Regions from separate parts of the Homo sapiens genome. Here all the other regions are linked to region 1. The links are contacts of gene promoters, found by promoter capture Hi-C in blood cells and fetal thymus (Javierre and others, 2016). All regions are on one chromosome and are shown on one strand. The core of a region is centred on a gene start or on the middle of the fragment in contact, and the rest is flanking DNA. Distances in the headings are between cores, read along the strand shown.

Region 1 (3,644 bases), core at 427-2,926:
GAACTCCTGAGCTCAGGAGATCTTCCCACCTTGGCCTCCCAAAGTGCTGGGATTACAGGTGTGAGCCACTGTGCCCGGCCATTGGAGTTTCAAATTTTATTCCTAACATGTAATCCGAGGCTCTGTTCCATGCCAAGTGCTCTAAGTGCTCAGTGGCTGTTTGTGCCGTGTTACAGGAGTTCCCGTCAGTTCTTTCGCCTGTGTATATTGCCAGGGGCCTTTGGTAACCTGAAATTCCCTTACAGTGAGGCAGCAGGAAGCAGAGAAACCCGGCAGAGACAGAACCCTGGGGGCTCTTTCCTTTATCCTTGGTCATAATTGTACAACTTGAAAATAAATTCTGTAACACCCCTAGTCACCAGGGTTATCATGCTATCAAAGGGTGTTGTTTGATGTCAGTTTAAGGGATTAAAACAAGTAACTTCCATACGAGAGGTAGACAAGCAATACCAACCCAAGGACAAGGGCCAAGTAGTAGGAAGGCTCGAATCACCTGCATCACCCTCGGAATGGCACTGCATTACTCAAAATTGAGAATGTTCCCATGCACAGAATGCTGAGATTCATGTCAATGAATTGATGTTAGGTTGTTCTGCAGGAAAATGTAGTAAATAATAAGATTATCATTTATGGCATAGAAAAAATGCATTTTAGATGACTCTATGCTAAGAGCAATGAAACAATGAAGAGAAAAAATGATTTTTTGATCCAGATCTAGATTGTTCTACCCTTAAAGTATTTAAGACAGTGATAAGCACATGTCTAAATTACCTGACTAATAGTCCAAATGGAAAAAAATCAGACAGGAAAGGGATGAAGCAGAAGTTTTAAAAAATTCGTATTAGGAAAATTGGAAATACATGAAATTTCATCTGAAATCAGCCAGAGACTTGGATCCTTGTTCTGCTTAAGTGAGTTTTACATAATGCAACACAAATTAAATATGTTGCTGATAAAATGGACCCAAAGCTTCGTACTGAATTGTGTAAAATGCGCTATCATTGTTCCCACCATTGAAAAATGGGATTTTCATAAATTACATTATTTTCCTAATAACCCTAACTTCAAACAGTTCAATTTTCATTTAAAGGAAAGTAATTTCCCAAATGGCATTTAGTCAGAACAGGTGCTGTTACGTTCACAACTTTTAAGCGGTTGGGATTTTGACATCTGGATGCCAGAGCTAATCAGGGGGCGTTTTCTCTTTTTCTATCTGTCCTCACTATCTGAAGCCCAGTTTACAGCTTCTCAGTGTATTTTGTACCTCATTAGTTTTTGGCATCCTCTATAGCATATTGGCCAGTATGATTCATCCTTTCTTTGAGCACAATTAGCTGTGAAAACAGATCTTAGGGCAGACTCCCTCCCTACCCCCAAAGGATTACTGAAGGTAGGAAATGCAGGTGATTATCAGAGTTTGCCTTTGATACAGACATCCTGCTCTGCCGTGGCCCTTTGAACTAACTTTGATATGCAATAATTAAGAGGGATTGAACCCCTGGAGGAGAAGCCGCATGGCCCTGCCTCTTCTCTCCTTCTATTGAGTCCTTGTTTTGAACTATTGATCAAACAGATTTGAAGGGATTTGTTGAAGCCTGTGTGGGGCAGGAGGAAGGAACGGAGCGGGGAGGAGGCACATCTGGTTATAAATAGTTTCAGGAGGAACCTGCTGGTCAGACTTTGCTCAGCCGATTTCACGCACCTTACTCAGACTAAGGTTTACTTCTTTCAGAAAAAGCAGTGACAAACAGACGACGTGCTGAGCTGCCAGCTTAGTGGAAGCTCTGCTCTGGGTGGAGAGCAGCCTCGCTTTGGTGACGCACAGTGCTGGGACCCTCCAGGAGCCCCGGGATTGAAGGATGGTGGCGGCCGTCCTGCTGGGGCTGAGCTGGCTCTGCTCTCCCCTGGGAGCTCTGGTCCTGGACTTCAACAACATCAGGAGCTCTGCTGACCTGCATGGGGCCCGGAAGGTAAGGCTGCTAGGGAGGGGGGCGAGGTACGGGACTGCTGACAGCTGGGGTGTTTTGTTTAGGCTTTAGTAAGTCATTCTGATTCATGTATGAAATGTCTTACCTAGCAGGTAAATTGAATTGGTTTCGGATTTGGGAGGGCATCCTGGTAGGATCAGTGGCCTTAGTGTGAATGTATGAAATAAACACAGTGGCTTTTCACATCATTCGGCCATACGTTTGTCTATAAATCACGAAATAAACGAACACTTTGGAAGCTCTACTATGTGCCAGCTCTTTTACATGTAATACGTCATGTACTCTTCCTCACAATTTGAGATAGGTGAAACATTCCCTAATTCCAGATGAGGAAATAAGACTCAGAGATGTTGAAGAGCTTACCCAAGCTCACACAGCCAGCAAGCAAACATGGGAATGAGAATTTAAACAGAGGGCCATGATGCATTGCCTTGTCACCATCTAACTTCACAGAGAGAGTTGTTTTAGGAATCGCTTTATGTATGTGTATATGTTATTATATATCGTATAGATTATTACATATATCATATATGCTACACCTACGTTGTATGTCTATGTAGAAGCATCAACTGTGTATGAGAACAATTGATCTTCGGTATCTCTTTCTCTATGTCAATGAGGCATCATTGAAAATCAAAGGACAGTTCACTTAGGGAAGGGTCTCTAAGCTAAATGTGATTCACTAGAGTAAAAAATCAAATAGGAATGCCACAAACATCAATAGTATGTTTAATGAAACTGTAGCCAGCTTCTAGAGTTAAGATATATTGAAAATCTCATACTCACCTGTTAAGACACACATAGGAAAACATTTTTTCCCATTTTCACAAAGAGCACAGGAAAACTAAATTCTGAGTTAAGTCAATTTTTCAAACTCAAATAGCCTTTGCAGCGCCTAGGTCTCCCCGGGTGACATGAGCTTCCCTTTGTGGGAGAAAACCATTTCCACTGGAGAGTAAGATGCTGCCCAGGGTTTGTCACAGCGCCACTGTCCTTTGGCTCCCTCCGCCTCCTGCCTTCAATAATAAGTCATCTTCCATCGTGTTGGGGGTTTCCTAGCCTTGTGATAACAGATTCCCTCCACAGGGCTCACAGTGCCTGTCTGACACGGACTGCAATACCAGAAAGTTCTGCCTCCAGCCCCGCGATGAGAAGCCGTTCTGTGCTACATGTCGTGGGTTGCGGAGGAGGTGCCAGCGAGATGCCATGTGCTGCCCTGGGACACTCTGTGTGAACGGTGAGCGACATAACGCCAACAGTGGTTTTTAAACCGAAGGTAGTGTCTAAGCCCCATAGACTAGAATATTCCAGGGTAGGCACTCTCTAATGGTGCTTCCTAGATTCATGCTTGAAGTAAATGTATGCAGCTGCCTTTTCTTTTCCTTTTTTTTTTTTTTCTGAGGCGGAGTTTCGCCCTTGTTGTCCACAGCTCACTGCAGCCTCGGCCTCCGGGTTCAGGTGGTTCTCCTGCCTCAGCCTCTGGAGTAACTAGGACTACAGGCATGTACCACCATGCCCGGCTAATTTTTGTTATTTTTAGTAGAGATAGGGTTTCACCATGTTGGTCAGGCTAGTCTCGAACTTCTGACCTCAGGTGATCCACCTACCTCGGCCTCCCAAAGTGCTGGGATTACAAGCGTAAGCCACCGGACCCGG
Region 2 (3,644 bases), core at 678-3,177, 450 kb after region 1:
GTCTGACTCTGTCACCTAGGCTGGAGTGCAGTGGCGCTATCACAGCTCACTGCAGCCTTGACCTCGTGGGCTCAAGTGATCCTCCCACCTCAGCCTTTCCAAATGCTATAGTTTTCTTTGTAAATGAAGGTTAATAAAGCAGTTGTAGTCAATTACATCAAAATGATTGAATTTGATCATAGTTTTCCAAAGAAAATGAAAACATTGACAAAGAGACAGTGATTAAGGCTTTACTAATAAAGGCAAGGACTTCTTGCAAATGGGATAATTACATGATTTCAAAGAAGTTTGTCTTACCTCCTGTTTAGAGAAAACAGCTAAAATTAACTAGAACTAACCTGACATTCTCAAAGGATGATTGAAAGCTGTAAATCTGAAAGCTGAATAATATGTATTATTGCAAGAACAACTTTAAAAGGTCAGGGAAGTAGTTCAATTAAAAGAACAGAGGAATACAAAGCAAAGCAGACTCAAGCCAGCTACTGCCACTCACCTTTGCTGAGTCTCAGCACAGGGATCTCAGGTTGCAGTGCTGCTGCTATCAGGCAACTCCCCGCTCCGTGGGGTCTGCCTTGCTGCCAGCGGACTGCCATCTAAACTGCTTTCCTCTGCAGCCTCAGGTGTCACACGAAGACATGAAAATGCCCATGCAATAAGATGGACTTGGTTCCCTTACATCTTTTTTAAACCCCTTGTTATTGTGAAAATAAAGCACATACAGAAAAGTCAATAAAACACATATAGCTGAATGCATTTGTCTAAAGTGAATACCTCTCTAAAAATAAATCAGGCTGCAAAATAGAACTGCAGCTCAGTAGTCCCTCCACTGTGGCTTGGAGGGCCCTTCCTAAGCACAGTCTACCCTCCCAAGCGGAAATGATCACCATCCAGGCTTAGGCGGTAAATCTTTTTCTTGTATCTTACTACCTAGGTGTGCATTCTTAAGCATCATAGCTTCACTCTATCTTGTTTTGAAGCTTACAGAAATGGAATCATACAGTTTGCATCTGGCTTCCCTCAACATGTTCGTGAGATTTGTTTATGAAGTTGGACGTTGCTGTAGTTCATTTATTTTCACTGCTGTATAATATTATATGACTACAAAAAATGTATACATTCTAAAGTTGACAAATATGTAGGTTTCAGTTTGGTTTATTACCAATGATACTGCTGTGTTTAATCCCACATACATCTGGTGCACATTTGCAGACATTGCTCATAGGTATGCTCCTAAAAGGTGAATTGCTGGATGATCAGGCAGGTGTAACTCCAGCTGTACCACCTAACGCCAGACTCAAAAGTAACCATTCCGTTTCTTGTTGTTGGCCCCCATTAGCCGTGTATGAAAGTTCTTGTTATTCCACATTCTTGTCAATACTTGATATTTTCAAATATTTCAATTTCTGCCAGTCTGGTGTGTGTGTAGTGGAATCTCTGTGATTTTCTTTTGCATTTCTCTGATTACTAATGAAGTTGAGTACCTTTTCATATGCTTAGTGGCTATTTGAGATTCCTCATTTGTGAAGAGTGTGTTTAAGTCTTGTGCCTGGATCGTTATTGAATTGCCTTTTTCTTATTGATTTATAGGAGTACTTTATATACTTTGAATAAGAGTCTTTGGTCAGTTACTTATGTCACACGTATCTTCTGCCATTCTGGGACTTGCCCTTTCACTTTAAGGGTATCTTTTGATGAACATAAGTTTTTAGTGTGTTCCAAGTTCAGTAGTATCTTCCTTTATGGGTAGTGCTTTTTTCTGTGTGGGTTGGGAAATCTTTCCCTACTCTGAGATTATAATGGTTTTATCTGATATTCTCTAGTTTCTAACAGCTTATTTTGCTTACATTGTTAAATCTTTAAAGTATCTGAAATTGATTTTTGTTCATGGCATGAGGTAGGGACCAGTTTCATCTTTTCCCCATGTGGAGACACGGTTCTGACAGCACTATTTCTTTCTCCACTGCTCTATGTCAAGTGTCCATATACGCATCAGCCTATTTCTGGACGATTTATTCTGCTTCATTGATCTCTATGTCTATTCTGGTTTGATTACTGTAGCTACAAAATAAATCTTCATATTAAGTAAAGCAAGTCCTCCTCCTAAGTTGTTTTTCTTCTCAGAAGTGATTGACCCTTCTAGGCTTTGTGCATGTCCATATATTTTTAGAATTAACGTATTAGATTCCTAAATGATCATAATGACATTTTATTTTGATTGCATTTATTCTAAAAATCAATTTAATGAAAATTGACAACAGTATTGATTCTTCCATTCACCGAACATTATATCATTTTTTCTTTTTTTGGTCTTACGGCACTGGCTCAGTACAGTGTTGAAGTCATTAGAGCAGGCATACCCTTAATCACATGAAGGAATATCCATTCAATTCCTAGTTTCCTAAGAGTTTTTATCATAAAAGGATGTTGAATTTTATCAAACACTTTTTCTGCATTATTGGAAAGGCATGATTTTTTTCTCTCATACACACATGCATTGCATACACTTAAACACAAGACAATTTCATATCAATTAGGAAGGGATAAATGGAGTTAAAGTGCTTCAACGTCTTTCAATGTCTTGATTAATATTACTGAGAAATTAAAGATACTTTTTTTGAAAGATGCATATTTTAATTTCCAGGGTAATCACTAAAAGAACAGAAACAGTGTGTAATTCCAAAATAATACAAGGAGAAAATGGAATGATAAAATGTGAAAAATAATCTGAAAGAAGGGAACAAAGGAGAGAAAAGACACAAGTAAATAGAAAAGACATTATAAATAGACTTAAACCCAAATATATCAGTAATTAAGTGATTTGTAAATGGACTAAATATTCCATTTAAATGACACAGATTATTAGAAAAATAAAGCTTAAAAACCTTATATGCTGTTGATAAGAGAAACATCAAAAACATAAGAAAAACATAAGTTAAAAAAATAGAAAAACTATGTTAGGAAATCACTAACAAAAGAAAGCATTAGTATAGGTATATTAATATGAGACAAAATAGAATTTAAGGCAAAAAGGATTACCAAAATAAAGAGGGTTAAAAATGGTAAAAGTTTTAATTCATCAGGAAGGTATAAAAATTCTAAATTCATATGGCCTTATTAATGTGATCCTAAAATATATAAAGCAAAAATGGGCAAAACTATAATGAGAGAAAAATCATAGAGGGAGGTTTTCTTAAAAAAAATTAATGTACTTGATTTACTAGACCAGTTTTAGGTTTACAGCAAAATTGAGTAGAAAGTACAAAATGTTCCTTGTCCCCACACATGTACAGCCTCCCCGATTATTGACATCCTCCTCCACAGTGGTACATTTGTTACAATTGATCTACATTGATACATCATTATCACCCAAAGTCTGTAGTTGACATTAGAGCTCAGTCTTCGTGTTGTACATTCTGTGGCTTTCCCCAAATGTATGATGACGTGTCCACCATCATACAGAATAGTTTGACTCCCCTAAAAATTTTCTGCCTAGTCATCCCTCCCCACTATTCCTTGGCAACCCCTAATCTTATTACTGTTTTCATAGATTTGTCTTTTTCAGAATGTCATATAATTGGAATCATACAGCATGTGACCTTTCAGATTGGCTTCTTTCACTTAGTAATAATATGCATTTAAGTTTC
Region 3 (3,644 bases), core at 800-3,299, 410 kb after region 1:
ATTAGGCATGTGCTAAGTGCAGGCAGGTAAAGGTGCATAGGAAGATACACAGCAGACAATAGCTTAGAGTACCAATGAAACATAGTGCATTGCTGTATTAAATGATTCAGACTTGTCTCAGATGTTCACAGTATACTAAGATGTGTGAGAATTGGCGCAACCTGAGATGATCACAGAAGCAGCAGTCCTAAGGAATGATGAGGATTTAGGTAGATGGAGAGAACTAGGGCTTATCAGATGGAGTAAACAACATTAACTTCAGCTTTGAGGAAGCAATGACTACTATACAGGAGTCCCCGCGTATCCACCAGTGATACGCTCCAAGATCCCCAGTAGATGCCTGAAACCGTGGACTGTACTGAACCCTGTATGTACTGTATTGTGTTACATGAATGTAGTCTGTCTCTCTCTAAATCTCTTATTGTACTATTGTACTGTACTAACTCTTCTGACGGTGTGAGATGATAAAATTTGCACCGAGGCTGACGACAGGTAACTAGAACCTCGAAAAGCAAAGCTGGGGATAAGGGGAGACTACTATAAATAATTCCAGCTGGAGGGCAAAGACGTATTATCTGTGTATTCCAAGAACCTGCCACTGAGATAGCAAGCAGAAGCTCACATTTATTTGGCACTCACTGCATGAATGGCATAGTGCTGTAAGTTCTGTGCAAATATCAACTCGTTTAAGCTTTTCAACAAATCTGATAGTGACTTGCCCAACTAAGGTGATTCAGCCGAGATAGGATTTGAACTGTGCTAGCCTTTTCTAGTTCCCAGGCTCTTAACTACTATTTTAATAAGTTGTGCTAAATTATCCAATGAACTAAAAATACATCTATGCGGCCTTTAATATGTGACTTATATTTAATGGGTAAATGCCTTAACACAGTAAACATCGCCCCACCTACCATTCCTACTTTCAGCAGCATCAAGGAGACATCACTTAACAGCAAAAAGATGTCATGGGGGTACCTTAAAATCCCGTCATGCCGAAACTGACATCTTGTTACTAGCTTTCAAAATGCTCCAAAATGCAGCTTAATACTAGTAATTCAGTGTATTACCATTGCCCAACAGATGTTCCACCCTGTCTTATCTCAAACTAAACTCCAGCTATTCCTCACTTTGCATGGTGCAATGTTAACTGAAACCCATGCTTATCAAACTAAAGTAGATTGAAGGAACAGGAGATGATCAAAGATGACTTCCAGGTTCTCTGACGCTGTAATAAAAAAAGTGGTTTGAAGCCAGTTGGGAAAGTTCATCTTGGCTAGATAAGAGGATGTTTTGAATAATAAAAAGACTCATAAAGGTAATGCAGAAAGTCATTTTTGAGGGCATAGATACAGCTTAGAAACTGCTTCACCTGTGTTAGGGTTGGCAAAATATGGCCTGTGGCCCAGTCCCATCCACAGCCTGTTTTGTATGACCTGCAAGCTGAGGATGGTTTTAATATTTTTAAACAGTTGGACAAAAATAAAAAGAATAATATTTATGGACATGTGAAAATTATGTGAAAAATGTTAGCGTTCGTAAATAAAGTTTTATTACAACATACAAAAAACCCATGCATATCAGAACTAAGGTCAAATCTGTCACCTCAGAAGCACGGACACAATTCTGATGTGTACCTGTTTCCATTAACACAGTGCCATCAAAAACAAGGACTGCCTGTCTTACAACACCTTTATGGGCAGATACTGTGTTTTCTATATCATCTCCACAGTGTGACTTGCATGTAGTAGGTCCTCAAATATTTGTTGATCTGATGGGCCAATAATCACCCTATCTCCTGTATTTACAGTAATCCCCCTTTTATCTGTGGTTTTGCTTTCCATGGTTTCAGTTACCCTTGGCTTGCCAAGGTCTGAATTTTATTATCATCGTCTCCTCCTCCTCATCATCATCAGAAGGGTGCATACCATGCAATAGGATATTTTGAGAGAGACCACATTCACGTAACTGTTATTACAGTACATCGTTTTAATTGTTCTGTTTTTAGTTATTGTTGTTAATCTCTTACTGTGCCTAATTTATAAATTAAATATCATGGGTATGGATGAATAGGAAAAAACATAGTATATACAGGTTGACTATCCCTTATCCAAAATGCTTGGGACCAGAAGTGTTTTGGATTTTGATTTTTTTTTTTTTTTTTTTTCAGATTTTGGAATATTTGCATCATATGCTTAGCCGTCGAGCATCCTGAATTCAAAATCTGCAGTGTTCTTACGAGCATTTCGTTTGAGTATCATTAGTGCTCAAAACGTTTCAGATTTTGGAGCATTTCAGGTTTCAGATTTTCAGATTAGGGATACTCAACTTGTATAACATTTAATACTATCTGCAGTTTTCAGGTATTCACTGTAGGTTTTGGAAAGGTGTATTCCCAGTGGGTGGATAAGGGGGACTATTGAATAAACAAGTAATTAAAGCCATGTGGTTAGTAATAGATACCCTCTTATTATATGTAAAATACTATATTCAGCATTATATATTAATTTGTTTCATTTAATACAACTTTATTATTAATTACTTGGCCTCATCTTACAAATGAAGAAATGGAAACATTAGAAGGATTGTTTTACCTAGAGTTATAAATTGTTAAGTTTCAGAGTCAATATTTGAACCCTGGTATTCTGACTCCATGGCCTTAACTGCTTAATTTATGATATAGTATTACTGTGGAGATATGCATAAATTGCAGTGAGAATGAACAGGAAGACATCTAGGGATGTTATTGTTCTATTTTTAGTTATTGTGGTTAACTAAAATTTTAAGTCTTTGTAGAGGAGGTGACATTTGTGTAGGGTGCTGAAGGGATGAGTAAGTTTACTATTGGAGAAGAGTGAGAAGGCATTTCTAGTAGCAAGTTTGGGTGTGAGAAATCGTGTATTCTCGGAGCTGTGTGCAGTTGGTTGGAGTTCAAACAAGAGATGATATTGGAGGGGTACTAGATCATGAAGATTTTGTGTTTCATATTAAGGAGTTTGTACTTAATCTTGCAGGTAAAGTAGCTCTTTAAAGTAGTTAAGTAGTAGCTAAATAGCTCTTGAGGAACTGCTAAAGAATTTCTAAAAAGTGGATGACATCATATTTGTATTTTAGAAACTCAAGTCTGGTGATATTGTCAGCAATGGATTGAGGAACACCTGAGCAAGGGACCAGTCAGATGATTACAGTAGTCAAAATGAAAAGTGACTGGGGCCTAAATGAAGGTAGAAGAGATAGATAGGAGACAGAGATAGATAATCGTTTTGAGAAAGACTTAAGATAGAATGGAAAAGACTGCTGTTGGATTGGGAGTTAGGATTGAAGGAGAGGGCAGAACCAAGTAGGTCTTCTAGTGTTCTATTTGGAGTAGATGATGGTATTACATGTAGGAATATAGGAAAAGAAGCTTATTTAGATGGAAGAAGAGACCATGCTTACACAGTTGTGGGATTGTGTGAAATCTAAAGTGGAGAACTTTGGTAGATGGTTGTGTACATGTATATACAGGAGACCTTGGGTGGGAGATTTGCTGTGTTACCAGCACATGTGATTGTTTAAAATTTTTATCAAAGATAATATTTATCTAATAATAAATATTACTAAATACTGGCTACCATGTTCCAAGCACTAGAGATTTAGCAGTGAAC
Region 4 (3,644 bases), core at 352-2,851, 360 kb after region 1:
GACAAAAAGATGGTTACTACAAAATTATGAAATCAAAATGCTTTTTGAAAACCTAAATTTTCAAATGAAAAATATCCTTCAACATACATATTTAGCTCACCCTTTATTACCTGTTTCTCTGCTGAAAGGATAGAATAGTACATATGCCAGGAGTTGAAATTTATCTATACATTGAAATTTATACGACTGTATAGGAGGTTGTGGTTTGGCAGCAAAAGCTTTCTAGATCACTAATTTGTAAGCGCCTTGAAGGTAAGTGTTCAGTGTCTCTTACATCTTTGTATTGCCCACAGGCAAATGCTGTTTTATGAGTGGCAGTAATTTGTATTCTGAACTTAAGGCAAGAAAGACTTTGTATAGGATCTGCTTTTAAGTGCTGTCGTGGTATCTGGAAAGTTGTTTGCATAGTTACCTCCTTATCTGTCTGTCCTCTTGGCTTCCTAGTTCTGCTTTCCCCCCAGCTCATCCATGTTGAAGGGATCTGGCTATAGATTGCAACTCTGCTTACTGTAGCATAGGGCTGCCAGCTTGGTAGTCCGGATTCTTTTTAGCACAGAAGGGGCATGAGACCACATTGGACATATTACTTGTGAGCTTTGAGAAGTTTTTGTGGATAACATTGGCAGACAACCTCTGACTTTGACATTATAGCCTACTCTGTTATATTGTTCTCCTCTCTTCTGCCTTACTATCTCCCTTCATGCACTGGTTATCCCATTTGAAATAGTGTTTCTGGAGGCTTAAAGATGAGGAGTAGTTGAACAGTTATGGACAGTGATTTCTCAGCTCCTTAGAGAACTGAACCCATAATCTATCCTTTCCTAGCGTAATCCTGAACCTGTAACTACATTTAATAACTGCATGTACCGAAGTATTTCAAGTAATCCTGAACCTGTAACTACATGTAATAACTGCATGTACCGAAGTATTTCATTGGATCACATACTGCTCCAGCTTCTACTTCAGTTTCTACCTCCCTTGTATATGAGGTCACTTATTCTAGTTGAGTAATATCTCTGAATTTCTTCCTTTATTTATTAAAAAAGTGCTAATATGCTGTCCTCCGAGCCCCATTTAATCTTTTTCTGTTTTCTTATTTTCCTTGCTTCTCTTTAGCCCCCCGATCTGTCCTTGTCTTATTGCTGTAACCTGCTGCCCCTTATTGATCATACAGTGGATTGAAGGTATATTTGTTGACTTAATTATCTATGTGTTTTAAGAAACTGGTTGCCTGAGGCATTTCTGCGTGTGTGTTTTAAAAGAGAGCATAGCCTCTTGATCTCAAGCCAAAAATGTGGTTCATTTAACTGGTATTTTATCTTCAATTGATTTTTCTGTGGAGTTTGGCCTTGGATATATATAGTATGGGTATAGATGATTGTGAATGGCTTATAATAGCTGATTACAGAGTATGGCCCAGAAATTCTTTTGCTTTGTACTGTGTATGGAACAGTTTGGTATGAAAATTAACTGTAGCAAAAGCATAGTTAACTTTAATAGCATATCTGGCATCTCTTTTCTCACACATCACGTCTAGTACAGTAGCAAATCCTTTTGGCTCTGCCCCTTAGAACAGGGGTTAGCAAATTATGGCCCCCACCTCTTTATAGTTCATGAGCTAAAAATGTTTTTTTTTTAACAATTCTAAATGGTTGAAAAATATTAAAATAATATTTCAAACACATGCAAATCATATGTAATTCAGATTTCAGTGTCCATAAGTAAAGTTGTATTGGAGCACAGCCACACTTGTTTTCGTTTCTGTGTTGTCCAAGGCTTCTTTCACGGTACCGCGGCAGACTTGAGTGGTTTTAACAGAGACCCTGTGACCTCAGAACTGAATATATTTACTGTCTGGTCTTTACAAACAGTTTGCCAAACCCTGCTCTGTTGTATATCCAGAATCTAGCACTTTTTACTTCCCTCTTGACTAAGTCATTGTTCTTGCCTCCTAATTGAACTCCTTGCTTCTGTTCTTGTCCCTTTAAATCTGCAGTCAGTGGAGTGATCTTTTTAGAAAGTAAACCACCCTCTGTTTAGATAAAATAGGTTAATAAATAAGTAAATATCAAGGACAGTTTTGAATGAAAATTATAGAAGGACCATTAATCTTGGTTAGGATAGGAGCAAGGAACCCCATATATTGTGTTTAAATGCTGATGAATACAGAAGTGACCATACATATGTGTGCATGAGCATTTGTAATTGAAAAAAAGCAGAGCCAAGGCCGGGCGTGGTGGCTTACGCCTGTAATCCCAGCACTTTGGGAGGCCAAGGCGGGTGGATCATGAGGTCAAGAGATGGAGACCATCCTGGCCAACATGGTGAAACCCCAACTCTACTAAAAAATACAAAAATTAGCTGGGTTTGGTGGCATGCGCGGCTGAGACAGGAGAATCGCTTGAACCCGGGAGGCGGAGGTTGCAGTGAGCCAAGATCGCGCCACTGCACTCCAGCCTGGCAACAGAGCGAGACTCCATCTAAAAAAAAAAAAAAAGAAAGAAAGAAAAATGACAGAGCCACCTCCCTCTGTATTGCTATATTTATTTATCTATAAATTTACATGCAATAATGCATTCTTTTCTGTGTCTACTTTTATGAGTTTTGATAAATGGATAGAGTTATATAACCAATCACCACAATCAAGATATAGGAAAGATCCATTATCCACTAAAAAAAAAAAAAAACTTGACTTTTGTAGTCATCACCCTCCCCCAACCCTGGCAAACCACTGAGCTATTATTCTCCCTATAATATTACATTTTCCAGACTGTCATATAAATGGAATCAAGTATAGTTTTTTAAGTTTGGCTTATTTCATTTGGCATCATGCATTTGGGATTCATCCATGTAGTTGTCAATAGTTTGTTCCTTTTTGTTGCTGAGTAGTACTCCATGGTGTGGTAGGTACACCATAGTTTGTTTATCTCTTCCCCTATTGAGGGACATTTGGTTTCAGTTTTTGGCAATTATGAATAAGCTTTCTATAAACATTCATATATAGGTTTTTGTGTGAATATAGTACAGTAGTTTCCTGTGGCTGCTGTAAAAAATTGCGAAACTGGATAGCTTTAAAACAGCAGAAATTTATTCCCTCACTATCCTGAGGGTCGGAAGTCTGAAATTAGTATTTCTGGACTGAACTCAAAGTGTTGGCAGGGACACATTGCCCCTGCAGGCATTCTGAGCTTCTGGTGGCTCTTGGCATTTCTTGGCTTGTGGTCAGCAGCAGCATCACTCCCATCTCTGCCTCTTCACATCATGTCTTCTCCTTTGTGTGTGTGTCACCTGTTCCTCTGCTTCTCTAGGGACACTTGTCACAACATGTATGGCCTGCTTAGATAATCCAGGATAACCCCCCCATCTCAAAATTCTTAATTTAATCACACTTGTGAAGACCCTTTTCCCAAATAAAATTATCCTTTACAGGTTCGAAGGATTAGGATGAGCTGTCTGTGGGGGATTTCAGTCTACTACTCTAGGTTTTCATTTGACTTGGGCAGATACCTAGGAGGTGTGTTGCTGGGTTGTATGGTAATGGTATGTTTAACTTTTATAAGAAACTGCTAAGCTGTTTTCCATAGTGGCTGTACTGTTTTGCATGCTTACCAGCTATGTATGAGTATCTCATTTATTCAGACTCC
Region 5 (3,644 bases), core at 386-2,885, 340 kb after region 1:
CTTTCATATGAAAGTCATAGTTCCCAGCAGATGGCTTTCATCAGCCCTGTACATGTATCTGTAAATTCAAGGCCAAGGAATTATTTTCAACTTCATTAGGGAACAGGTGAAGAAACCATTTGTAGTGTGGCACTATTTTATTAGGAGTTGAAATTAAGCATAGAGATTATAGTAGTATGCCATTCTGGGTCAAAATAGTTTTTAACTGTCAGCAATTTAAAGAAAAAAAAAGACTGCTAAGGAAAAGTAAGTCTGGCTGTAGTGTTGATTGAGGTATCTTTTATGGTTGAATTGTATTATGCTTACGAAACATAGATTATTAGAAAAAAAGACTTGTATCTTCTGCATTGTGTAGAATGTTCAGCCAGTAGCAATCTTGGATCACAGTGATTCTAATCTGATTTCACAAATAATAGGGAAATTTGAGAGCCAAAGAGGTTGAAGTGTCTTGTCCAGTGCCACACAGCCAGTTAATACCATCTGGAAGAATTGGTCAGGCCCTTCTCAATTTTGTGCTTTTTTCATTATGCTGTAGTACTGCTTTATAGTATTAGAGAGCAGTGAGCCTAAAATAATTTAGTTAGAATTCTCTTCCTTAATGGAAACCATAGAATAAACCTTGTCTAGAGAATATTGGTGGTATCGTAAACCACAAATATATAAATCTGCTATTTCAGTGTGTGAAAATAGCTATACACTCTTGTTAGAGTTTTGAAACAACTTTTTGGGAAAAGACTGCTTTCTTATGGCCCAAGTTAGAGGAATCAAGGTTTTCTTATGTTGTTGGCTAAATATTAGAAGGGGAACATGTTGAGCTACCTTAATGCTGGAAGAAAAAGTACTCCTTGAGTTTTGGGAAAAAAAGTCCATTTAAAGGTAAGTCTAATTTTCAGTAGGTCTGCAACACAAATGACCTCTGAGTGACTTGGATCATTGGTTAGAATTTAAAATTCTTGAGACTGAGCTAGAGATAGCAAGGTACAAACCTTTCTATTAATTAATGAAGTAATTTTTACCAAAGACATTAAATATGGGTGGACCAAAAGTGTATAGTCTAGCACTTCTATAAACATAGTGTCTGGGAGGAGCTTGAGAGATTTGTAATGTTACTTGTAAACAGACCGTGTGGGGAAGACCGCAGACAGCACATCATTTTTTGTCTTTATTGGTCTTTATGACTAACACTTCATCTCTGCATCACTTCTGCTTTGCTGTAAAACTTAGCAAGTACATTAGGATAGTGGCAAATAAAGATTAAGATTGAGGACAGATGTTTGTAAAATAACTGGGCGATTTTAAGATTATAGGTGTAACTTGTTAAGAAGAAGATAACTGGTGTGGAAATAAAATCTGGCAGCCAAAAAAAAAAAAAAAGCTTTCAATGTGTTAAAGAAGATAGTTGCTTCTTTTGCCGTTTACCTTTTATGTAGAATAGGTGATTCCGCAGATCTAGAGGTGTTGTCAGACTTGTACTATGGGCTGCGTTTTCCTCCAGGGAATTGTGAACTGTAGTTGACCTGAAGAGCTGCTAAGTGTTGGTTTTTAATTCTTTGAGCTTAGTAAAGTCTAGGTTCCTTTTTTCTTAGTCATTGGGTACAGTGAAGCATTTAACTCCTGAGTTTTCTAGAACCTTTAACAGAACTCTCAGAAACATTATTACTATTTTTGTGTGTGGAGTGTGATTCTGTACTTTAATAGTTTCCCAATTTTTCTATTCAGGGCATCTTTAAATATCTAACTTACTATTTAAACCCTCTTTCACCATTTTCCTGCCTTACTTTTTTCCATGCCACTCAGTTTTTCTTTAATTCTGTAACATAAATCCAAAGCCTTATTCTTTGGAAAGCAGTGGTACTTGGCACTAAATTCACTTTAGCATTACCTGAGGAAGCTTAAAAAATAAATACCAAACTAATTAAATTTGACTAGTAGTGAGGCCCAGGTTTCAGTTTTTTTTATTTTTTATTTTTTTAAGAATGTTTATCTGATGTGCAGCTGGGGTTGAGAACCATTGCTCTAATGCTTAGAACCAACATCTCTGTAGTGGGGACTGGCTAAGAGAGTCAGAAGACAGAAGAAGCAGGTACTTTTTAACCTCATAATTGACATTCAAACAAATGATGAAATAGCATGCTTCACACACACCCTCATGAACACACTTTGGACCCAGGACAGTGTACTTCTGGAAATGTACATTCTGTTTTATTGTCCTCCCTGGCTATAACTACTCTAATCTTCCACCTTTCTTTCTCCTTACCCTCACTGCTTTATCTCAAGAAGATCTTGTGTGGTATATAGTTGCGAGAAAGTTACCTGCATGATTCCGACAGGTGCCCTGCCATCACTCTAATGCTGTTCTCATTGCTTGGCCTTATGGCACATTCTCACTCACTCACTACTCCTGCATCATGTTGGCAAACTCCAGCCATTTACCACCTTCTCCTTTTTTTTTTGAGTTGGAGTCTTGCTCTGTCACCCAGGCTGGAGTGCAGTGGTGCGATCTCTGCTCACTGCAACCTCCATCTCCTGGGTTCAAGCGATTCTTCTGCCTCAGCCTCCCAAGCAGCTGGGATTACAGGTGCCTGCTACCACCCCTGGCTAATTTTTGTATTTTTTTAGTGGAGACGGGGTTTCATCATGTTGGCTAGGCTGGTCTTGAACTCCTGACCTCAGGTGATCTGCCCACCTTGGCCTCCCAAAGTGCTGGGATTACAGGCATGAGCCATCGTGCCCAACCTCTCTGCTTTAACTTTGGGGAAAATCTCATGACCATGTGGTGGGATGCCACTTACAAATTTGTGGCCTCCAATCTGAGCTCTGCCCTCTGCTTGAAGATGTATGTCTGTGTATAGTCTGTTCTGTCTGCAGAAATTCAGTATTTCTTCCCACCTTTTTTTCTCATTTTCAGTAGATACTCCCATATGCTACATCATAGAGATAATGGAATCTGTCCAATTGAGCTCATTGAGTTTATACCCCTCTCATGCCATCCTAAATACATCTGTGCTTATTTCTGCCCGCTTTGCTACCTTGTCATAGGACAGTGAAAGAAGTGTGAAAGGCTCATCTCTCCATTCTTTTTCAGGACCCCATTCTCTGCTACCTCAGGGGCCGTGTGCCATCAAAAATAGTCCCATTTTTTGACTCTATCATCTTTCTCGCTCACTTTTTAGTCCTTAGCAGGCAGAAGACTCTCCCGTTAGAGTAAAAACAACCAAAAAACCACTGCAGATCCTTCTTTCTATGTATACCCTGTCTGTTTCCATTCATTTTTAAACTTCTTGAAAAAAGTCTATATTCATTCCACGTCTGCTGCAATCTGGCTTTTGGCCCTAGAGCAGCACTATTTGAAACTGCTCTTGTGGACAGTTTTCAGTCTTATTTTACCTGAGTTCTCAGCTGCATTTAGCATTTGTTGACCATTCTTCCCTTTCCTCTGGGATAATTCTTAGATGTCTCCCCCTTCCTCCCATCTTTCTGGTAATTCCTTTTCAGTTTATTGGCGTTTTATCTTTTGCCTGTATCTAGATGTTGGATTCCCTAAGGTTCTGTTCTTCACTCATTTCTTACTGTTTTCTAGAGAGTTATCTAGAGATAACTTTCCTGAGTTATTTCTAGACCTCTGTGTTCTTTACTGATGACTC
Region 6 (3,644 bases), core at 434-2,933, 310 kb after region 1:
AAAAGAAAACTCAAATGGCCAATAAACAAAGGTCAATCTCACTAGTAATCAAGGAAATGCAAATTAAAATACTACAAATAATAACAACTCTAATAAGAGTTAACACTTACATTGTGGTCTCTATATAACTTAGATTGGTTTAGTGCCACAACTATATGTAGTAACTTTAAAAATTCTCACAACAATCCTATGTCATAGTATGGTAGGTATTAGTGCTATTCACTAATAAACCTTGCATGAGAAAACATAAGAATCCTTAAAATCATGTAGTATAAATCCAGCAAACTTTGTCCTTTTTCAAAGTTTATGACAATCCTGTACTTTGTATTTCATAAGACTTTAGAATTTGCTTGTCAGTTTCTTTTCCTTTTTTTTTTTTTTGAGATGGAGTTTCACTCTTGTCACCCAGGCTGGAGTACAGTGGCATGATCTCAGTTCACTGCAACATCTGCCTTCTGGGTTCAGGCGATTCTCCTGCCTCAGCCTCCCCAGTAGCTGGGATAACAGGCGTGCACCACCACGCCCAGCTAACTTTTGTATTTTTAGTAGAGACAAGGTTTCACCATGTTGGCCAGGCTGATCTCGAACTCCTGACTGCAGGTATTCTGCCTGCCTTGGTCTCCCAAAGTGCTGGGATTACAGGCGTGAGCCACAACGCCCGGCCTGCTTGTCAGTTTCTATAAACAAAGCCTGCTGGGATTATGATTACAATTGAATCCATAGCTGAATTTGGGAATAATTGATATCTTAACACCATTGAGGTTTCCAACCACAAAACAAGGTGTATCTTTCCATTTTCTTAGTTCTTTTTTTTTTTTTTTGAGACAAAGTTTTGCTTTTGTTGCCCAGGCTGGAGTGCAGTGGGGTGATCTCTGCTCACTGCAACCTCTGCCTCCCAGGTTCAAGTGATTCTCCTGCCTCAGCCTCCCGAGTAGCTGGGATTACAGGTGCCCGCCACCAGGTCCAGCTAATTTTTTTTTTTTTGTATTTTTAGTAGAGACAGGGTTTCACTATGCTGGTTGAACTCCTGACCTCAGGTGATCCACCCGCCTCGGCCTCCCAAAGTGCTGGGATTACAGGCGTGAGCCACTACGCCCGGCCCCATTTTCTTAGTTCTTAGCTCTTGGCAATATTTTGCAGCATTCAATGAACAGATCTCGCACTTATTTTGTCAGATTTATCCCCAAAGCTTTCATACTTTTAAGCAACTGTACAAAGCTAGTTTTTTTTTAATCGCCAATTGTTTGTTGTTAGTATACAGAAATACACTTTATTTTTTTAAAAAAATTCTGGTAAAATACACAAAACATAAAATTTACCATCTTAACAATTTCTAGGTGTTCACTTGATGGGTGTTAAAAATACATTGATATTGTACAACCATCACCACTATTCATCTCCAGAACTCTTTTCATCTTGTAAAACCAAATATCTGTACCTATTCAATAATAACTCCTCATTTTTCTTTTCCTCCAGGACCTGGCAACTACTATACAACTTTCCGTTTCTGTAAATTTGACTACTTTATGTAAGGGAAATCATACAATATTTATATTTTTGTGACTGGCCTATTTCGCTTGACACAATGTCCTCAAGTTTCATCAATGTTGTAGCGTATGTCAGAATTTCCTTCCCTTTTTAAGGCCAAATAATATTCCACTGTATGTATATACCACATTTTGTTTATCCATTCATCTGTTGATGAACATTTGAGTTGCTGCCACTTCTTGGCTACTGTGAATACTGCTACTCTGAACATGGGTATACAAACATCTCTTCAAGATTCTGTTTTCAATTTTTTTTTTTTTGAGACGGAGTCTCACTCTTTGTTGCCCAGGCTGGAGTGTAGTGGTGCAATCTCGGCTCACTGTAACCTCTGCCCTCCAGGTTCAAGAAATTCTCCTGCCTCAGGCTCCCAAGTAGCTGGCATTACAGGCTTGCGCCACCACGCCCAGCTAATTTTTGCATTTTTAGTAGAGACAGGGTTTCGCCATGTTGGCCAGGCTGGTCTCCAACTCCTGACCTCAGGTGATCCGCCCGCTTTGGCCTCCCAAAGTCTGGGATTATAGGTGTGAGCCACCGCGCCTGGCCTGTTTTCAATTCTTTTGTATATATATCCAGAAGTGAGATTGCTAGATCTTATGGTAATTCTATTTTTCACTTTTGAGGAAGCTTTATACTGTTTTCCACAGTGGCTGCACCATTTTATATTCTTAACAACACTACACAAGGACTCCAATTTTTCCACATGCTTACCAACACTTCTTGTTTTTTTTTTTTTTGAGACAGAGTCTTGCTCTGTCACCCAAGCTGGAGTGCAGTGGCATGATCTCGGCTCACTACAAGCTCCGCTGCCCGGGTTCATGCCATTCTCCTGCCTCAGCCTCCCGAGCAGCTGGGACCACAGGCGCCCACCACCACTCCTGGCTAATTTTTTTGTATCTTTAGTAGAGATGGGGTTTCACCGTGTTAGCCAGGATGGTCTCGATCTCCTGACCTCATGATCCACCCGCCTCGGCCTCCCAAAGTGCTGGGATTACAGGCGTGAGCCACCGCGTCCAGCCCACTTCTTGTTTTTTGTTTGTTTGTTTGTTTGTTTTGAGACGGAGTCTCACTCTGTTGCCAGGCTGGAGGCTGGAGTGCAGTGGTGTGACCTCGGCACACTGCAATCTCCACCTCCTGGGTTCAAGCGATTCCCCAGCCTCAGACTCCCAAGTAGCTGGGACTACAGGTGTGCACCACCACGCCCAACTAGTTTTTTCTCTTAGTAGAGACGGGGTTTCATCATGTTGGCCAGGATGGTCTCGATCTCCTGACCTCGTGATCCGCCCGCCTCCGGCTCCCAAAGTGCTGGGATTACAGGCATGAGCCACGATGCCTGGCCGTATATTGATCTTATATCCTGCAACCTTGATAAACCTATTAATTCTAGCAGTTGTTTGTAGGATATTTTAGATATTCGATCATGTCATCTGTGAACAAAGATAGCTTTCTTTCTTTCCAATTTGGATGCCTTTTTATTTTCTTTCCTTACTGTTCTGCCTAGAAACTATAGTACCATGTTGACTAGAGAAGTGGTGACAACAGATATCTTTGCTATGATCATGTCTTAGAGGGAAAGTATTTGTCTTTCATCATTAAGTACCATGTTAATTGCAGGTTTTTTGAGATTTCTTTTATCATTTTGAGGAAGTTCCTTCCTATTTCTAATTTGCTCATATTTTTATCAGGAATAGATGGATTTTGTCAAATGCTTCTCTCTTCATCGAGATAATCATATGAGTTTCCCTTTTTAGTTTGTCAATGTGATGAATTACATTGATTGATTTTCAAATGTTAAAGCAGCCTTGCATTCCTAGGACAAAGCCAGCTGGTCATGTTCATGAAGGACATCCGTTTTCTTGGAATGCCTTTGTCTGCTTTTGGAATGAGAGTAATGCTAACTTCATAAAGTGAATTGGGGAATATTCCCTTCTCTTCAAATTTCTAGAAGAATTTGTGTAAAATTCGTTTTATTTATTTACTGTTTGGTAGAATTTGTCAGTGAAATAATCTGTGCCTGACTTTTAACTATAAATTTTGTCATTCTTATAGATACAGGATTATTCAAATCGTCTACTTATTCTTATGTGACTTTTAGTACA
Region 7 (3,644 bases), core at 690-3,189, 300 kb before region 1:
GGGTAGACCTCTAGGTGAGTTCTTGGGTGCTTCTGAAATCTCACCCATCATTTTCCAAAATGACAGAGTAAATGTACCTTGGTTGAAGGAATGTGTAAAGCCACTGTTGAGATGCTATAAAGAAATACCCGAGACTGGGTGATTTATAGAGAAAAGAGGTTTAATTTGCTCAGGGTTCTGCGGGTTGTACAAGCATGGCTCCAGCATCTGTTCAGCTTCCTATAAGGCCTCAGGGGGCTTTTACTCCAAGAAGGAGGTGAAGCAGGAGCTGGTATCCCACATGGCAGAGGGGGGGCAAGAGAGCGAGTGGGGAGAGGCCACGCACTTTTTATTTTTTTTGAGACGGAGTCTCACTCTGTTGCCCAGGCTGGAGTGCAGCAGCATGATCTCGGCTCACTGCAACCTCTGCCTCTTGGATTCAAGCAGTTGTCTACCTCAGCCTCCTAAGTAACTGGGATTACAGGCTCGCGCCACCATGCCCGGCTAATTTTTGTATTTTTAGTAGAGACAGGGTTTCACAATGTTAGCCAGGCTGGTCTTGAACTCCTGACCTCGTGATCTGCCTGCCTCAGCCTCCCAGAGTGCTGGGATTACAGGCGTGAGCCACCGCGCCCGGCCGGGGCCACACGCTTTTAAACAACCAGATCTCACAGGAACTCACTCACTATTGCAAGGACAGCACCAAGGGGAAGGTGCTAAACCATTCATGAGAAATCCACCCCCATGATCCAATCACCTCCCAGCAGGCCCCACAGCATGAAAACTGGGTGGGGACAAATATCCAAATGATGTCAAGGAGCAATAAGGCATAATAATATGGGAATCCAAAGTGTTGGGTTTTTGTTTTTGTTTTTGCGACTGCTGAGGACTATTGGAATACTTTGTCTTATCCAAATAGCTGTTGTTTGAGGCTGGGCACGGTAGTTCACACCTGTAATCCCAGCACTTTGGGAGGCCGAGGCAGGTGGATCACTTGAGGTCAAGAGTTCAAGACCGGCCTAGTCAACATGGTGAAACCCCATCTCTACTGAAAATACAAAAAATTAGCCTGGCATGGTGTGCATGCCTGTAATCCCAGCTACTCAGGAGGCTGAGGCAGGAAAATCGCTTGAACCCAGGAGGCAGAGTTGGCAGTGAGCCAAGATTGCACCACGGCACTCCAGCCAGAGTGACAGAGGGAGATTCTGTCTCAAAAAACAAAAACAAAGACAAAACCCCACATAGCTGTTGTTTGAGTGCAATTACGTTGTTTGGATGCAATTATGACTTAAAGTTTTTTTCTGACATAAAAGTTTTTTCTTTGTTTTTGTGTTTTAAGTGTTCATTTGCTGCTAGCATAAACTTCAGCCCTCTTTTGTTTGGTCATTACACCCCTAACCTGGCAGGGGCCTATAAGCTGCACAAATTAAGCTTCTAGTTAGTGAGGTGCATGAGCCTCCCCTTAGCACAGTTCTGTAAATCATAGAATTTTATTATTTTATTTCAGACAGGGCTGAGCACGCCACAGCCTTGACATCCCAGGTTCAAGCAGTCCTCCCACCTCAGTCTCCTTAGTAGGTGAGACTACAAGTGTGCACCACAACACCTGCTAATTTTTACATTTTTTTATAGAGATGGGGGTCTCACTCTGTTGGCCAGGCTGGTCTCAAACTCCTGAGCTCAAGTGATCCTCCTGCCTCAGCCTCCCAAAGTGCTGGGATTACCGGCATAAACCACTGCACCTGGATTGAAAATCTCTTAAAACTTTTGTTGAATGAGAATGAGGCAAATCTAAGCCTGCTATACATCTACTTAGGATTTTAGTCACCTTTTTAAGGTGTGTGGGTATCTCTTTATTGCTAAGGGTTACCTAAAAGAAAGTCATTCTGATATTATAACTACTCTGTTCTGAGTCCATTCCAAGAACAATGTGCCCCTTACCCAAGTTTATGGGCTGATAGAGGGAGACAGAAAGATAATTGTGGACTTTTCATTTCCTTTTGCTTCTTTAGTGAGTAGGGAATTACAAAGCAGGCTCCGGTGGCTTCACTTTTCTGCCTGGGGGAACTGGAGTGGAAGTGAGGGTGGGGCTGGGGAAGCAGCCTTTGCTGCCCCTCGGCTCCTTTGTCCCAGCTCATGGGGTCTCCAGCAGCTCACAGACCTTCTGTACCACTGTGAGATAACGCCGGGGGATGGGACTGTAGTCACCTGCATGCTGGATTTGATCCTGGAAGGAAACAGACAAATTCTGAGAGGGTTGCTGATGACCCGGCAGGACTTTTTGCCCTGCTCTTCCCTCTGGCTCTCAGTTAACTCTCTGTATTAAGGAAAGTAGCTTTCAGGTTTTATAAGTGGCAGGGAGGTGTGTTCTTTGAAACAGCTCATCAGACCTATTAGAGATGATTTTCAATTCTCTGGGGAAAGTGTCAAACATCAGAAAGTAAGGAACTCACTTCCTTTCTCTGTTGTTTCAGCTTGTGCTAAGCTTTAGTTTGAGTTCATTTTTGTGAGTTCTTACCTGAAGCAATACTAAGTTGGCAAGTATAAAACTTCACGTGTAGTGGTTGAGTAAAGGGATTTTTCTTAGAAAACATGAAGTAGGAATAACCAAGTATGTTCCCACCTGCTACTTCTCTTTGGCCATGACTAGAACCACAGAAATTTCATTGAAAATCAAGGAAAGAATCTTTCAGCCAATTTGTTACCTTACTCCAGTTTCCGGGGGTGATGGGTCCTGGCCAACAGTTCTGAACTGATTTTTTTTTTTTTTTTTTTTTTTGAGACAGAGTTTTGCCCTTGTTGCCCAGGCTGGAATGCAATGGCACAATCTCGGCTCATTGCAACCTCGGCCTCCCGAGTTCAAGTGATTCTCCTGCCTCAGCCTCCCAAGTGGCTGGGATTAGAGGCGCCTGCCACCATGCCTGGCTAATTTTTGTATTTTTAGTAGAGACAGGGTTTTACTATGTTGGCCAGACTGGTCTCGAACTCCTGACCTCAGGTGATCTGCCCGCCTCAGCCTCCCAAAGTGCTGGGATTACAGGCGTGAACCACAGTGCCTGGCCTGAACTGAAATATTTGAATAAGGAAAGGCAGACACAGTCTAGAAACTAGAGACTTACACATGGATATCAATCCCTAACAAAATCTACACAGTCTTCCTAGACAAATGAAGGTTACCACTGAGATTCAGCATGGATCCATGACAAATAAGTGGTATTGATTAAACACACCATTTCATTGATTGGGATAGTAGGGTAAGTGATCAAGGTATGATAAATGCCTGAACAGCAGACAGCTTTGGAGTTGTGGGTCCTGGCCTCTGTTGCTGGGAGACAGGTTGATAGGTTGATGCAGCAGCACAGGAGATCGCCTGCGGCCAGCAGATACGTGGGATGCAGATACTGAACATGGAGAGGGTGAGTTGTGAACATCACAAAAACAAACGTGGTGGCCCCAAAGAAAGGGGATCCAGGTTGTCCTTTTCCTCACTGGTAAGACAGGGTTTTTCGAGTTATGGATTTTAGTTATTCAGAGGACCCAATCAATGACTGGGAATGTCGAGTTTTCTATCCCTAAAGGGCTAGAGGCAAAGATCTCGACAGTGGAGAGAAGGATCGGCCTAGGGCAGCCACCTCAGGAGCCCTGAGCAGATAAGGAAGCCACCA

What was found. The method cuts DNA at HindIII sites, captures the fragments that hold promoters and counts their contacts. A CHiCAGO score of 5 or more calls a contact.
Region 2: a contact is called between a fragment that was not itself captured here and the fragment with the promoter of DKK4 in region 1, in 7 of 17 cell types (non-activated CD4 T cells, naive B cells, naive CD8 T cells and 4 more). The highest score is 7.4, in non-activated CD4 T cells.
Region 3: a contact is called between a fragment that was not itself captured here and the fragment with the promoter of DKK4 in region 1, in 9 of 17 cell types (activated CD4 T cells, total CD4 T cells, naive B cells and 6 more). The highest score is 11.7, in activated CD4 T cells.
Region 4: a fragment that was not itself captured here is called in contact with the fragment with the promoter of DKK4 in region 1 in 5 of 17 cell types (activated CD4 T cells, non-activated CD4 T cells, total CD4 T cells and 2 more); the score reaches 8.3 in activated CD4 T cells.
Region 5: a fragment that was not itself captured here is called in contact with the fragment with the promoter of DKK4 in region 1 in 4 of 17 cell types (activated CD4 T cells, naive CD8 T cells, total B cells and 1 more); the score reaches 9.2 in activated CD4 T cells.
Region 6: a fragment that was not itself captured here is called in contact with the fragment with the promoter of DKK4 in region 1 in 1 of 17 cell types (erythroblasts); the score reaches 5.9 in erythroblasts.
Region 7: a fragment that was not itself captured here is called in contact with the fragment with the promoter of DKK4 in region 1 in 1 of 17 cell types (M0 macrophages); the score reaches 5.2 in M0 macrophages.

The regions. Positions count from the first base shown.
Region 1 is chr8:42,375,261-42,378,904 of GRCh38, reverse strand. It overlaps DKK4 (dickkopf Wnt signaling pathway inhibitor 4), which reads left to right and starts at 1,676. Exons shown (of 4, transcript NM_014420.3): 1 at 1,676-1,970; 2 at 3,075-3,225. The coding sequence starts at 1,860. The HindIII fragment of the contact is 5,398 bases long and covers 972-3,644 here.
Region 2 is chr8:41,922,859-41,926,502 of GRCh38, reverse strand. No RefSeq gene overlaps it. Among named protein-coding and RNA genes, the nearest start is that of ANK1, 130 kb to the right of the region's middle. The HindIII fragment of the contact is 1,896 bases long and covers 980-2,875 here.
Region 3 is chr8:41,963,148-41,966,791 of GRCh38, reverse strand. The region is part of intron 8 of KAT6A (lysine acetyltransferase 6A); the gene reads left to right. Among named protein-coding and RNA genes, the nearest start is that of KAT6A-AS1, 87 kb to the left of the region's middle. The HindIII fragment of the contact is 2,712 bases long and covers 694-3,405 here.
Region 4 is chr8:42,012,114-42,015,757 of GRCh38, reverse strand. All of the region lies in intron 2 of KAT6A (lysine acetyltransferase 6A), which reads left to right. Among named protein-coding and RNA genes, the nearest start is that of KAT6A-AS1, 38 kb to the left of the region's middle. The HindIII fragment of the contact is 2,762 bases long and covers 221-2,982 here.
Region 5 is chr8:42,035,422-42,039,065 of GRCh38, reverse strand. All of the region lies in intron 2 of KAT6A (lysine acetyltransferase 6A), which reads left to right. Among named protein-coding and RNA genes, the nearest start is that of KAT6A-AS1, 15 kb to the left of the region's middle. The HindIII fragment of the contact is 516 bases long and covers 1,378-1,893 here.
Region 6 is chr8:42,061,142-42,064,785 of GRCh38, reverse strand. The region is part of intron 1 of KAT6A-AS1 (KAT6A antisense RNA 1); the gene reads right to left. Among named protein-coding and RNA genes, the nearest start is that of KAT6A, 11 kb to the right of the region's middle. The HindIII fragment of the contact is 983 bases long and covers 1,192-2,174 here.
Region 7 is chr8:42,677,103-42,680,746 of GRCh38, reverse strand. No RefSeq gene overlaps it. Among named protein-coding and RNA genes, the nearest start is that of CHRNB3, 18 kb to the left of the region's middle. The HindIII fragment of the contact is 1,054 bases long and covers 1,413-2,466 here.